4 separate regions of the Homo sapiens genome follow, and all the other regions are linked to region 3. Evidence: promoter capture Hi-C in human tissues and cell types (Jung and others, 2019). All regions are on one chromosome and are shown on one strand. The core of a region is centred on a gene start or on the middle of the fragment in contact, and the rest is flanking DNA. Distances in the headings are between cores, read along the strand shown.

Region 1 (3,000 bases), core at 466-2,965, 450 kb before region 3:
GACTGCTAAGGGTAATGTGGCAATCTAGAGCCAGATTGCCGGGGTTCGAATCCTGCTTCTGCAACTGCTCTGTAACTTTTGGCAGGTCATTAAACCTCTCTGTGCCTCACCTTCCTCATCTGTAAAGTTGGGATGATCATATTAGAGCCTACCTCAGAGAGTACTTATGAGACATAAACGAGATAACATCTCAAACACTGAGGCACAAACAAAGCAAATGTCAAAACACTTAGAATGGTGCCTGGCACATAGGGAGTGTTATGTGTTAATTATATATTAATTATTGCTATTATTAATATCATCATCATAATTCTCTTGGTTATTAATAAAATCTAAGAGAAAGCTTTTCTCCTCTCTCTCAACCCTAAGGGTCACTTTCACGGGCATCAGAAATTCTAACAATCCCAGAGCCAGGATTACAGGCATGAGCCACCGCACTAGGCTCATTATTCTAGATACTAAGAGGAGGGAAGAAACTGCTAACTCTATTCCAATAAAAACATCTTCTTCAAAGAAAAAAGGTAAGCCAAGCACAGTGGCCATGCCCGTAATCCTGGCACTTTGGGAAGCTAAGGTGGGAGATCACTTGAGGCCAGAAGTTTGAGACCAGCCTAGGCAACCTAGCAAGACTCCCCCTCTACAAAAAAATTTAAAAATTGACACATGCCTGTGGTCCCCGCTACTTGAGAGGCTGAGGTATGAAGATCATTTGAACCCATGAGTTTGCAGCTACAGTGAGCTGTGATTGCACCACTGCACTGCAGCTTGGGCAACAGAGTGAAACACTGTCTCTAATTAATTAATTAATTAATTAATTAATTAATTTTTAATTAAAAAGAAAAAGAAAAAAGAATAACTTTCATATCAGCCAGGCACTTCCAAAGTTGTTGGGCTTGTTGGTTGTCTCTGATAGCAAAATAATCTATAGACTGCCTTTTATTTCTGCTTTTGGGAAAATTTAATAAAGTTTGGTTTCTGAGGTAGTACCCTCAATTTAACAATTTGTTTTCTTGAAAATTTGAAGATTATATATATGTCTCTTCACGTGTATGCATATGCCTTATGTATATACACACATATGTGTATTTGTGCAAACATGTATACATCCATATTCCATTTTAGGCATTAGGCATATGCTTACAAAGATACATAAACATATATATTGTGAGCATGTTTAAGACTATATAGGCCAGATTGGTGGCTCACATCTGTAATCTCAGCACTTTGGGAGGCTGACGCAGGCGGATCACTTGAGATCAGGAGCTTGAGACCAGCCTGGCCAACATGGGGAAACCCCATCTCTACTAAAAACACAAAAAAATTAGCCGTATATGGTGGCGGGCACTTGGAGTCTCAGCTATTTGGGAGGCTGAGGCACAAGAATTGCTTGAACCTGGGAAGCAGAGGTTGCAGTGAGCCAAGATTGCACCACTGCACTCCAGACTGAATGACAGAACAAGACTCTGTCAAAAAAAAAAAAAGACTATATAAACACATACATACAGAATGCCTTATAGATGTTTATGCCCCTTTGAGTGGAACACTGGTGGTTGTGGGGAGGAAGGCACACATGGAAGAAGTAAAAATAGCCATAGGGTTCCCCAGGGGACGATATTCTCAAGAAATTTGGAAGTTCAGCAGGGCACAGCTCAGAAAGGGAGGTGATGGTGGTGGTGGTGGTAGTGGTGTTGATGATGGTGATGGTGGTGGTGATGGTGATGGTGGTGGTGATGATGGTGGTGGTAATGGTGGGATGGTGGTGTTGGTGGTGATGGTGGTGGAGGCTGTGGTGTTAGTGGTGATGGTGGTGGTACTGGTGGTAGTGGTGATGGTGGTGGAGGCAGTGGTGGCGGTGGTGGTGATGGTGGTGGTGGTGATGATCATGGTTGTTGGGGTGGTAGTGGAGGTGGTGATGGTGGTAGTGTTGGTGGTGGTAGTGTTGGTGGTGGTGGTGTTAGTGGTAGTGATGGTGTTGGTGGTGATGGCGATGATGGTGGTGGAGGTGGCGATCATTGTGGTTGTGTTGGTAGCAGAGGTGGTGATGGTGGTGGTGGTGATGGTGGTGGTGGTGGTGTTGGTGTTGGTGTTGGTGTTGGTGATGGTGATGGTGATGGTGTTGGTGGTGATGGTGATGATGGTGGTGGTGGTCATCGTGGTGGTTTTGGTGGTAGTGGAGGTGGTGATGGTGGCAGTGGTGGTGATAGTGATGGTGCTGGTCGTGGTGGTGATGGTGTTGATGGTGGTGGTGGTGATGGTGTTGATGGTGGTAGTGGTGATGGTCCTGGTGGTGATGGTGATGATGGTGGTGGTGGTAGTGGTGATCCTGGTGGTTGTGGTGGTAGCGGTGATGGTGTTGGTGGTGTTGGTGGTGTTGATGATGTTGTTGTTGGTGGCAATGGTGGTGGTAGTGGTGTTGGTGGTGGTGATGGTGTTGGTGGTGATGGTGATAATGATGGTGGTGGTGGTGACCATGGTGGTTGTGGTGGTAATGGAGGTGGTGATGGTGGTAGTGGTGGTGATAGTGATGGTGCTGGTGGTGTTGTTGGTAGTGGTGATGGTATTGGTGGTGGCAGTGGTGATGGTCCTGGTGGTAATGGTGATGATGGTGGTGGTGGTAGTGGTGATCATGGTAGTTGTGGTGGTAGTGGTGATGGTAGTGGTGATGGTGGTGGTGGCAGTGGTAGTGATGGTGATGATGGTAGTGCTGGTGGTGGTGGTGATGGTGGCCTGGTGGTGGTGGTGGAGCTGGTGGTGATGGTGGTGGTGGCAGTGGTGATGGTGGTGGTAGAGGTGGTGGTGATGGTGGTGGAGGTGGTGGTGCTGGTAATCGTGGTGGTGGTGGCGGTGATGGCAGTGGTGGCGGTGGTAGTAGAGGTGGTGGTGGTGGTAGAGGTAGTGGTGATGGTGATGGTGGTAGATGTGGTGGTGGTGGTGGTATATCTACATGATGCAGCAGGCTAGTAGAAGATCCCAAAAAGTTGATTTCAAGAGTAGCTGGTG
Region 2 (3,264 bases), core at 581-3,080, 270 kb before region 3:
TTTCTTTTGTTTTTTTGAGATGGAGTCTCACTCTTGTCACCTAGGCTGGCGTGCAGTGGTGCAATCTCGGCTCACTGCAACCTCCGCATCCCTGATTCAAGTGATTCTCCCACCTCAGCCTCCCAAGTAGCTGGGATTACAGGTGCCCACCACCACACCCAGCTAATTTTTGTGTTTTTAGTAGAGATGGGGTTTCACCACGTTGGCCAGGCTTGTCTTGAACTCTTGACCTCAGGTGATCCTCCTGCCTCGGCCTCCCAAAGTGCTGAGATTACAGGTGTGAAGGTGTATTTCTTACTATGTAAACTAACTAGTTTTTCTAAAAATATGGCTCGTGTCTCATTTAGTCATTCATTCATTCATTCATTCATTAAAAGAAAAACAACAACACAAACATGATTAGCCCTCACTATGTTCCAGTATCTATGCTAGATCTTGGATATATGCTGGCAAACAAGAGGGCACAATATCCCAGAGGACTGAGGCGACTGAACAAATAAACACAATGTAATTCGGGAAGAGGTGAGGGCTGCGGTCAAACATGAGAGGATCTCACCCAGACCTTGGGGTCAGGACATGCCAGAAATATAGAAAATGACTGGTCTTCTCCTTGCTATTTGAGGACCTCTAGACTGGGGTGGGGGAAGTAAGGAGGAGCAGCAAATCTGTCTTAGGAGTCAAGTAGCAATACAAGTCAACCACCCCCGTGGGGGGTTTGTAGGATGGGAGATGGATGGAGCTCTGTCAGTACCTCTGGTATAAGAAATGAATTCACGGCCTATCTGAGCTACCAAGAGGGCACTATGAGTTTGTCTTCAGCAGCCTCACATTCCTTTCTGTGTTCTCTCCAACCTTCTTGACCCCTTTTTCCCAAGTTCCAGACACTACCCCTCCAAGTCTATCCTTAACACAAATCCCTGTGTCCTTTCTTCCACCATTTTATTCTCAATAAAATAATTTTTCATAGGATGTTAGCAGGCACTAAGTCAAATTACACAGAAGTGTGAATTGCTGCTGTCCCATCATCCCCCCGAAGTGTGCGCACTGAAAACTGATTTACAGCATGATTACTGGTTGGCTCCCAAATCTAAAAACAAAGTCTAAATACCCAAGATGAAAATAAAGTATATTAATTCTATGAAATTAAATACTTCTATTTAAATGATAATTATGAAGATTGGAAAATGCATATCAGTAATAATATCATAATAAAATACAATTTATATCATTTTTATATATGGTGGGGAAAAACACAGATGTATGCATATTATAATTGCAGTTATACAGTTGGAGTGTAAGTATGAAAGAGTTGCAAAGACATGTATGCAGTTCTGTTCACTTGAATAGTTTATGTGTGAGTAAGTCTGGGTTATTTTAATTTTTTAAAAAAAGCAACAATGACTGACAAAGGGATTTGCAGGAGGATAGCTATATAATACACCAGTTTCTAAAGCCAGAAGTACAAGGAAATCAACCTGTCTCATTTCATGGATATACTAATTATAGGCAGTTATTGCTAGTTTCTGAGAGTATGCAAGAACCATCTGAAACAGCCTGAGGGTCTTACCCTCCAGGGCCCTAGATTAAAGAATTCCCTAAATTAGCAGGACTGTTTGACATTTTAATAGACTGCTCCAAGCAACTCTGTTACTTGGGTTAAAAAAATTTTTAAACAGAAACAGCAATTTATTTTATGTTAATTTTATGTCTTAGCAATTTATTTTATGTTAATTTTATGTCTTAGATACACATCCATTCATACACAGAGAGCCAGTAAAATTAATCCCTTTGTGGGATTAATTTTATTTTATGTGCTTTGGTTTTTTTCTAAGCATCAGTCTTTAATAACATTGTATGTCCTACAAATTATATAACATATGCTTTTCCAAGGAAACGAGAATAGGATTAAATGGATGATAAATCTCCTGATGAGAAAAAATTGTGACTTTATATTGATTTTAATATTTGAAGATAGTGCCAGTTACCTAGGAGTTGCTGACTGCTGCGAAACAGCAAAACCTAAACATCTAATCTCATGCAGTTATCTCATCTGCAGGGTAAAAGTGTCTTAACTGGAGGCCTTGATGCGTTGGAATTCATCGGCAAGAAAACCATGAATGTCCTTGCAGAAAGTGACCCGGGCTTTAAGCGGACCAAGACGCTCATGGAGAGAACTGTTTCCTTGTCTCAGGTTGGATTATATACGTTTGCAATTTTTTCTTTCAGTCAATAAAGTAAATAAATTTTTTATTTATCTTTTTGAATAGCTCATTTAAAGCATGTGATTCAAATCAAATGACACCAAAGAGCAGAGAGAGAAAACTGAGCTTCTAATACCCCCATTTCCCCAGTCACTTAATTCCTCAGAGGAGACAACCAGTTAACAGTTCCTTAAGGATTCTATCAGAGACCGCAGAGAGATATGGATATAGATCTATAGATGCAGCTATACATAAATATACAGATGTAAAAGTACATATGTATGCATGTGGATAGACATGCACATAAATACACACATATTTTTTCAACCCAGTGGTAACATACTAAACACACTCTTGTTCCTTGCTTAATTCACTTAATATTATTTCTTGAAGATGATCCATTTATGTCATGGTATGCATCCCATCTCTACCACTTAGTAGCTGAGTGACCTTGGGCAAGTTACTTAGCCCCTCTGTGCCTCAGCTTACTCATCTGTACACTGGGGATAATTTAAATACCTACCAATAACTTTGTTGTGAGGATACGCTGAGTTAGAATAGAACCCAGCTCTTAGTAAGCATTCAGAAATGTTAGTTGTTGTCATTGCCGTTATTATGTGTCGGTATAATAGGTGGAAATGGTATCTCATTGGAATTTTAAATTCTGTTTCTCTTGATATGTGCAAGGATGGTCTTCTCCTCTCACACTTCCAGCACTAAAGTTTTCCAGCCCTTCTTGCAAAACATAAAACAAAGAATTCAATCTGTCTTTGCTTACTTACAATAGTTAAGAAAATTGGAAATAATATTAGTCTTGTTTTCCAAATATGACTCTAATATTAAACTTACTTTTCCAGATGGAACATGCCTAGCTTACCCCACAATCCAGGCATGCCCCAGTCCACCTCCTCCACGAGAGACTGATACACCAGGTCTCTGTGCTTTCCTGAAATCAGAAGCAGCTGATGCAGCAGTGGATTTTGTAAACGTCACAGGCAGGACTTGGTACTAGGAACCCATGAAGGTTGCCTTCATGAACAGCTATCACTGAGAATATGTTCAT
Region 3 (3,013 bases), core at 377-2,876:
AGTGGAACAGGATGGTTTATGGAGGCTGAAGTTGAGTATTTCCCTTCTCCCAGGTAGTTTAGGCTCTGATAAAACCCCAGCAGACTAGGCTTTGGTAAAAATACTTTCTCCTGAGGGCAGGTCTTGTTAAGAACTGATTGCTCTGGCTATTTTTAAATGGTTACCCTTTCAGCAGAGGAATCTTTCAGTAAAAATTTAAGTAATTAACCTAACTGTCAGAGGCGTTTGAACCAGAGCGATTCCATTTTGAGTGAGGGCTAGGAAAATGAGGCTGAGACTTGCTGGGCTGAATTCTCAGAATTTGGGCATTCCTCGCCTCTAGATGTTTACGATTAAGGGAATAAATTAATAATGTTTACTAAAACAGACCCAGATATCGGGATATCTGGAGAACAAAGGCATTCCTAATTTTGCTTTAAAGATAATAATATCAATTCCTGCAAAATAATTAAGAAAATTAATCTTTGATCACAAACCCTTGTAGCAGAGCACATCTCCCCATATATACAAGCATTGTACCTAGGGTGGATGCGTCCCTTCTCTTGCTTTCAGGAATGTCCTACTCTGTCTATGGAGTAGCTGTCCTTTCACCACTTTACGTGTTTTAATAAACTTGCTTTTCTCAGCACTGAGAACTCGCCCTGAATTCTTTCTTGCGCGCGATCCAAGAACCCTCTCTTGGGGTCTGGATCCGGACCCCTGTCGTAACGTAACTGAAAACCCCAGTGCAAAGGCATAGCACCCTACTTAAGAATTTGCAAACATTCATTATTAGTTATTTCAAATCATTGATTAACTTTCTCTAAGCCAATCAGATTCCTACCTGATGTCGAAAAGAAAAGCAAAAGGTAGACTGTTTCAACACTTTCAGACGCTTGGGTAAAAGATGCACTTTCATGCTATAAATAATGCAGCACAAATACTGTACAACAGGGCTTTATACTTGGGGAAAAGCTGCCAGATCCAAACTCTAAAGGAAAACTATTGGAGCTCATTTTTCCTGCCCACGTTAGCTAGCACATTTTGTTGACATTGAAAAAAAAAAAAGATTTTGGTGAAACTGAAAAAAAAAAAGCACCAACAACCCTACCTTGAAATAAACTATTGTACCTCTTATGCCTCCTCCCTTCTACCCCAGAAACCTGGAAGAAAAAAAGATATACCCGAGCTCGTCCAACCCCTCTTTGCGTGGACTGTATAGGAGTATTTAGCCCATCCTGCCTCCTTTAATCTAACATTCTGCGTCTTCTTTCCTTCAGCTTCTCGGCGCCCCCTTTGGCCAGCACTGACATCTTAGTCATCGCGGTCCAAAATTTACGCACGCGCCTTTGAGGGCTCACAGAGCCCGTCTCTCCCGGACGAATCTCATCCAATCAGAGCCAGCCAGGAAGCCGAGGCTCAGCAAGGCCTCGCGACGCCCAACTTCCCAGGGTTAGCGTCTCTGATGTCATGTGATTCCACCCTCCGCCTCTCACCCACCCTCGCAGAGGGCGGTGCGCTTGGCCCGGCCCCTCGAGGCACCGCCTTTCAATTAGCACTCGCTGATTGGTCGCTGCTCGCGCGGTCTCCTGGGTGACGGGAACGCGGTAGCCTGCTTGGTGGAGACCGGGTGCGCCTGCGTACTTCATAGTTCGCGTAGCGGCTCGAGCGTGGAGATGAAGGTAAATAACTTACAAATTCCCGGGGTGGGGCGGGAAAACGCGACTACTGGCCCTTGGTCGCTTTTAAAAGAGGATATCTGTCCCTCTCCCTTCTGAGTTCGTTGGAAATGAGGAAGAGAGAGAGAGAGAGAGGTGGCCAGAGAGAGCGGGGGCGAAGCTGAAGGGACGAGAGAAAGGAAAGAAAATAGGAGGAGAGGAGAGGGCGGAGAGAGAGGCCTCTCGTTTTGGGGACTGCAGACGCCGTAGAAGCGGTGCAGAAAGTGGGAACCCCTCCCTGGCCGAAATGAGCGGACTGGATCTAAAGATACCCCAGCTTCGCACGCGGAAAGAACTGGTCGAGTTAACGCGTTTGGAGGGTCGCTGTGAAGTTGACTGGGTCCGATGTCACGAGCTACCTCATTTCTTGGGGCTAAGCCTCTGGCAAGCCGCGCAGCTGCCCAGCGCCTTAAAAAGAATGAAAAGCCTCCTAAAGAATAACTTCAAAATGTATTACCTGTGACCAGTCCAATCACCTGCTAGCGAGTGTACATTATTGACGGGAAATCTGCACCCGAAAACTCAGGTCTCACGCTCATGTGCCTCATCCTCTGCACGCACGGTTTCTAGGCTTGGGCTTCTTGTTCACCCCACTTTCTGATTTATCAGAGCAGTCCCCCCTTGCTCTGCTCTGGCAAAGAAATGGAAGGCTTTTTTTTTTTTTTTTTTTTACTGAGTCTCGCTCTGTTACCCAGGCTGGAGTGCAGTGGCGCAATCTCTGCTCCCTGCAACCTCCACCTCCTGGGTTCAAGCGATTCTCCTGCCTCAGCCCCCCGAGTAGCTGGGACTACAGGCGCGTGCCACCACACCCAGCTAATTTTTTGTATTTTTAGTAGAGATGGGGTTTCACCGTGTTAGCCAGGATGCTGTCACTCTCCTGACCTCATGATCCCCCGACCTCGGGCTCCCAAAGTGCTGAGATTACAGGCGTGAGCCACCGCGCCCGGCTGGAAGGCTCAATTTTAAAATTATTTTAGATGTCCTCATGCTTCTTCGTGGCTATTAGTGTGGAAATTGGAATTGACGGACCAGTAATCATAACTCCCATTTTTATTTCTAAAGCTCTTTACAATTTATGAAATATTAGAAGTGAAGAGTTATTATTCATGATTTACAGTTGAGAATTTTTTGCTGGAGGCAATTTAAACGACTTACTTAAAGCCCTACAGCTAATAAGCTACAAACAAAATTTAAGTCTTGGTTTTTTGGTTGTGAAACTAGCAGTTTTTCCTCTGCACGGTATGTGGAGCATCTATAGAGCTCCACTGAAAAAAAATAATATGAAATCACAGCTAGAGGCAAGTCAGCCATTGAAG
Region 4 (3,328 bases), core at 531-3,030, 330 kb before region 3:
GCCAAACTCAAGATATGAAAGAAGTTAATACTCAACTAAACAGAAATAAAAGAGCAGAATAGGCATTTATAATAGATATCTTCAGAAAGAGGAGAGATTCTTTTAAAAATAGAGTAAGAATCATGGAAATTATAGACAATTATTGAAAAGAAAAATTCACTGGATGACTTGAGTTGCAAATAGCACCACTAATGAGAAAATTAATGATAGAGAAGACCAAGGAGAATTTTCCCAAACTCACCAGGGGAGGCCAAAGAGACAGAAAACATACTAAAATGCTAAAAGACATGGAAGACAGATCCATATCTGAATTCCCAGAGGATGGAGAGTTTAAAAAGAAATTAACTCTAAAATAATAAAATACAAGAAGGATTATTTAGCAAAGAAAAGTAGTAAAATTTAGTGCTAAGTACCAAAAAGTATTGATGACAAAAATCTTAATAGAAATCTCGAGCTAAAAACTGCCAATGATAAGAAGGGAGAAGGGAGTTGGCTGAAGGTGGGGTAGGGAGGGAGAGAGTGCACTAAAACCATGTAAGATAGTTGTCTAATTGAAAGGAAGCTATAGATGCCAATTAACTCCTGATGTTGTTAGAAAAATATTTGTAAGTATATATATTATAAAATTAAGAGTAATTATGAGAAAATACAAATAAAAGGGATAAATTTCAGTCATTTATGGGGAAGGGATAGAGCTCAGAATAAAGAAACCCCAATCAATCTAGCTGTGTCCTGAAGAAAAAATATAATGAGTAATTAGGATGTTTCTGAGATTGTAGAAATGGTCTATCATTAACAAGTCTATAACAATAATTCAATTGAGTAAGTCAAACAAGAAAAATAGATGAGCATCTCTATAAAGGTGAAAAATTCACTTGATAAAATTCAGTCCTCATCTTTGATTAAATACAACTATAGGTATTTAAAAAATACTTTGAAAACTTTATAAAGAATACCTCAAATATCTAACTTTAATCAATATTCCACCCCAAGGCATTCCTGTTAAAGTCAACATCAAGAATGCACACATTAGGGGGGGTGGTTCCAAGATGGCCAAATAGGAACAGCTCCAGTCTATAGCTCTCAGCATAAGTGATGCAGAAGATGGGTGATTTCTGCATTTCCAGCTGAGGTACCGGGTTCATCTCACTGGGGCCCGTCGGACAGTGGGGGCAGGACAGTGGGTGCAGCTCAATGAGTGTGAGCCGAAGCACGGTGAGGCATTGCCTCACCCGGGAAGCACAAGGGGTCAGGAATTCCCTTTCCTAGCCAAAGGAAGGGGTGACAGATGGCACCTGGAAAATTGGGTCACTCCCACCCTAATACCGTGCTTTTCCAACGGTCTTAGCAAACGGCATACCAGGAGATTATATCCCGCACCTGGCTTGGAGGGTCCCACACCCACGGAGCCTCGCTCATTGCTAGCACAGCAGTCTGAGCTCAAACTGCAAGGTGGCAGTGAGGCTGGGGGAGGGGCGCCAGCCATTGCTGAGGCTTGAGTAGGTAAACAAAGCAGCCAGGAAGCTCAAACTGGGTGGAGCCCACCACAGCTCAAGGAGGCCTGCCTGCCTCTGTAGACTCCACCTCTGGGGGCAGGGCATAGCCCAACAAAAGGCAGCAGAAACCTCTGCAGACTTAAATGTCCCTGTCTGACAGCTTTGAAGAGAGTAGTGGTTCTCCCAGCACAGAGTTTGAGATCTGGGAATGGACAGACTGCCTCCTCAAGTGGGTCCCTGACCCCCATGTAGCCTAACTGGGAGGCACCCCCCAGTAGGGGCAGACTGATACCTCACATGGCCAGGTACCCCTCTGAGACAAAGCTTCCAGAGGAACGATCAGGCAGCAACATTTGCTGTTCAGCAATATTCGCTGTTCTGCAGCCTCCGCTGCTGATACCCAGTCAAACAGGGTCTGGAGTGGACCTCCAGCAAACTCCAACAGACCTGCAGCTGAGGGTCCTGACTGTTACAAGGAAAACTAACAAACAGAAAGGACATCCACACCAAAAACCCATCTGTACGTCACCATCATCAAAGACCAAAGGTGGATAAAACCACAAAGATGGGGAAAAAACAGAGCAGAAAAGCTGAAAATTCTAAAAATCAGAGCACCTCTCCCACTCCAAAGGAACGCAGCTCCTCGCCAGCAACGGAACAAAGCTGGAGAGAGAATGACTTTGACATGTTGAGAGATGGCTTCAGACGATCAAACTTCTCCAACTAAAGGAGGAAGTTCGAACCCATTGCAAAGAAGCTAAAAACCTTGACAAAAGATTAGACGAATGGCTAGCTAGAATAAGCAGTGTAGAGAAGTCCTTAAAGGACCTGATGGAGCTGAAAACCATGGCACTAGAACTATGTGACGAATGCACAAGTTTCAGTAGCTGATTTGATCAACTGGAAGAAAGAGTATCAGTGATTGATGATCAAATGAATGAAATGAAGTGAGAAGAGAAGTTTAGAGGAAAAAGAGTAAAAAGAAACAAACAAAGCCTCCAAGAAATATGGGACTATGTGAAAAGGCCAAATCTATGTCTGATTGGTGTGCCTGAAATTGACGGGGAGAATGGAACCATGTTGGAAAACATTCTGCAGGATGTTATCCAGGAGAAATTCACCAACCTAGCAAGGCAGGCCAACACTCAAATTCAGGAAATACAGAGAACACCACAAAGATACTCCTCCAGAAGAGCAACTCCAAGACACATAATTGTCAGATTCGCCAAAGTTGAATGAAGGAAAAAATGTTAAGGGCAGCCAGAGAGAAAGGTTGGGTTACCCACAAAGGGAAGCCCATCAGACTAACAGCTGATCTCTCGGCAGAAACTCTACAAGCCAGAAGAGAGTGGGGGCCAATATTCAACGTTCTTAAAGAAAAGAATTTTCAACCCAGAATTTCATATCCAGCCAAACTAAGCTTCATAAGTGAAGGAGAAATAAAATCCTTTACAGACAAGCAAATGCTGAGAGATTTTGTCACCACCAGGCCTGCCCTAAAAGAGCTCCTGAAGGAAGCACTAAACATGGAAAGGAAGAACCGGTACCAGCCACTGCAACAACATGCCAAAATGTAAAGACCATTGATGCTAGGAAGAAACTGCATCAACTAACGAGCAGAATAACCAGCTAACATCATAATGACAGATCAAATTCACACATAATAATATTAACCTTAAATGTAAATGGGCTAAATGCTCCAATTAAAAGACACAGACTGGCAAATTGGATAAAGAGTCAAGACCCACCAGTGTGCTGTATTCAGGAGACCCATCTCACGTGCAGAGACACACATAGGCTCAAAATAAAGGGATGGAGGAAGATCTACCAAG

What was found. The method cuts DNA at HindIII sites, captures the fragments that hold promoters and counts their contacts. A contact is called where the count stands out against the background at its distance.
Region 1: a fragment that was not itself captured here is called in contact with the fragment with the promoter of WDR19 in region 3 in 1 of the 25 tissues and cell types used here (spleen).
Region 2: a contact is called between a fragment that was not itself captured here and the fragment with the promoter of WDR19 in region 3, in 1 of the 25 tissues and cell types used here (spleen).
Region 4: a contact is called between a fragment that was not itself captured here and the fragment with the promoter of WDR19 in region 3, in 1 of the 25 tissues and cell types used here (spleen).

Annotation. Positions count from the first base shown.
Region 1 is chr4:38,731,448-38,734,447 of GRCh38, forward strand. No RefSeq gene overlaps it. Among named protein-coding and RNA genes, the nearest start is that of TLR10, 50 kb to the right of the region's middle. The HindIII fragment of the contact is 3,485 bases long and covers 1-3,000 here.
Region 2 is chr4:38,906,536-38,909,799 of GRCh38, forward strand. It overlaps FAM114A1 (family with sequence similarity 114 member A1), which reads left to right. Exons shown (of 15, transcript NM_138389.4): 7 at 2,057-2,191. Among named protein-coding and RNA genes, the nearest start is that of MIR574, 40 kb to the left of the region's middle. The HindIII fragment of the contact is 7,729 bases long and covers 1-3,264 here.
Region 3 is chr4:39,180,903-39,183,915 of GRCh38, forward strand. It overlaps WDR19 (WD repeat domain 19), which reads left to right and starts at 1,627. Exons shown (of 37, transcript NM_025132.4): 1 at 1,627-1,661. The coding sequence starts at 1,656. RefSeq lists enhancers at 1,296-1,475, 1,327-1,621, 1,746-1,895, 2,596-2,665. The HindIII fragment of the contact is 15,497 bases long and covers 1-3,013 here.
Region 4 is chr4:38,846,265-38,849,592 of GRCh38, forward strand. The region is part of intron 1 of TLR6 (toll like receptor 6); the gene reads right to left. Among named protein-coding and RNA genes, the nearest start is that of TLR6, 8.9 kb to the right of the region's middle. The HindIII fragment of the contact is 4,111 bases long and covers 1-3,328 here.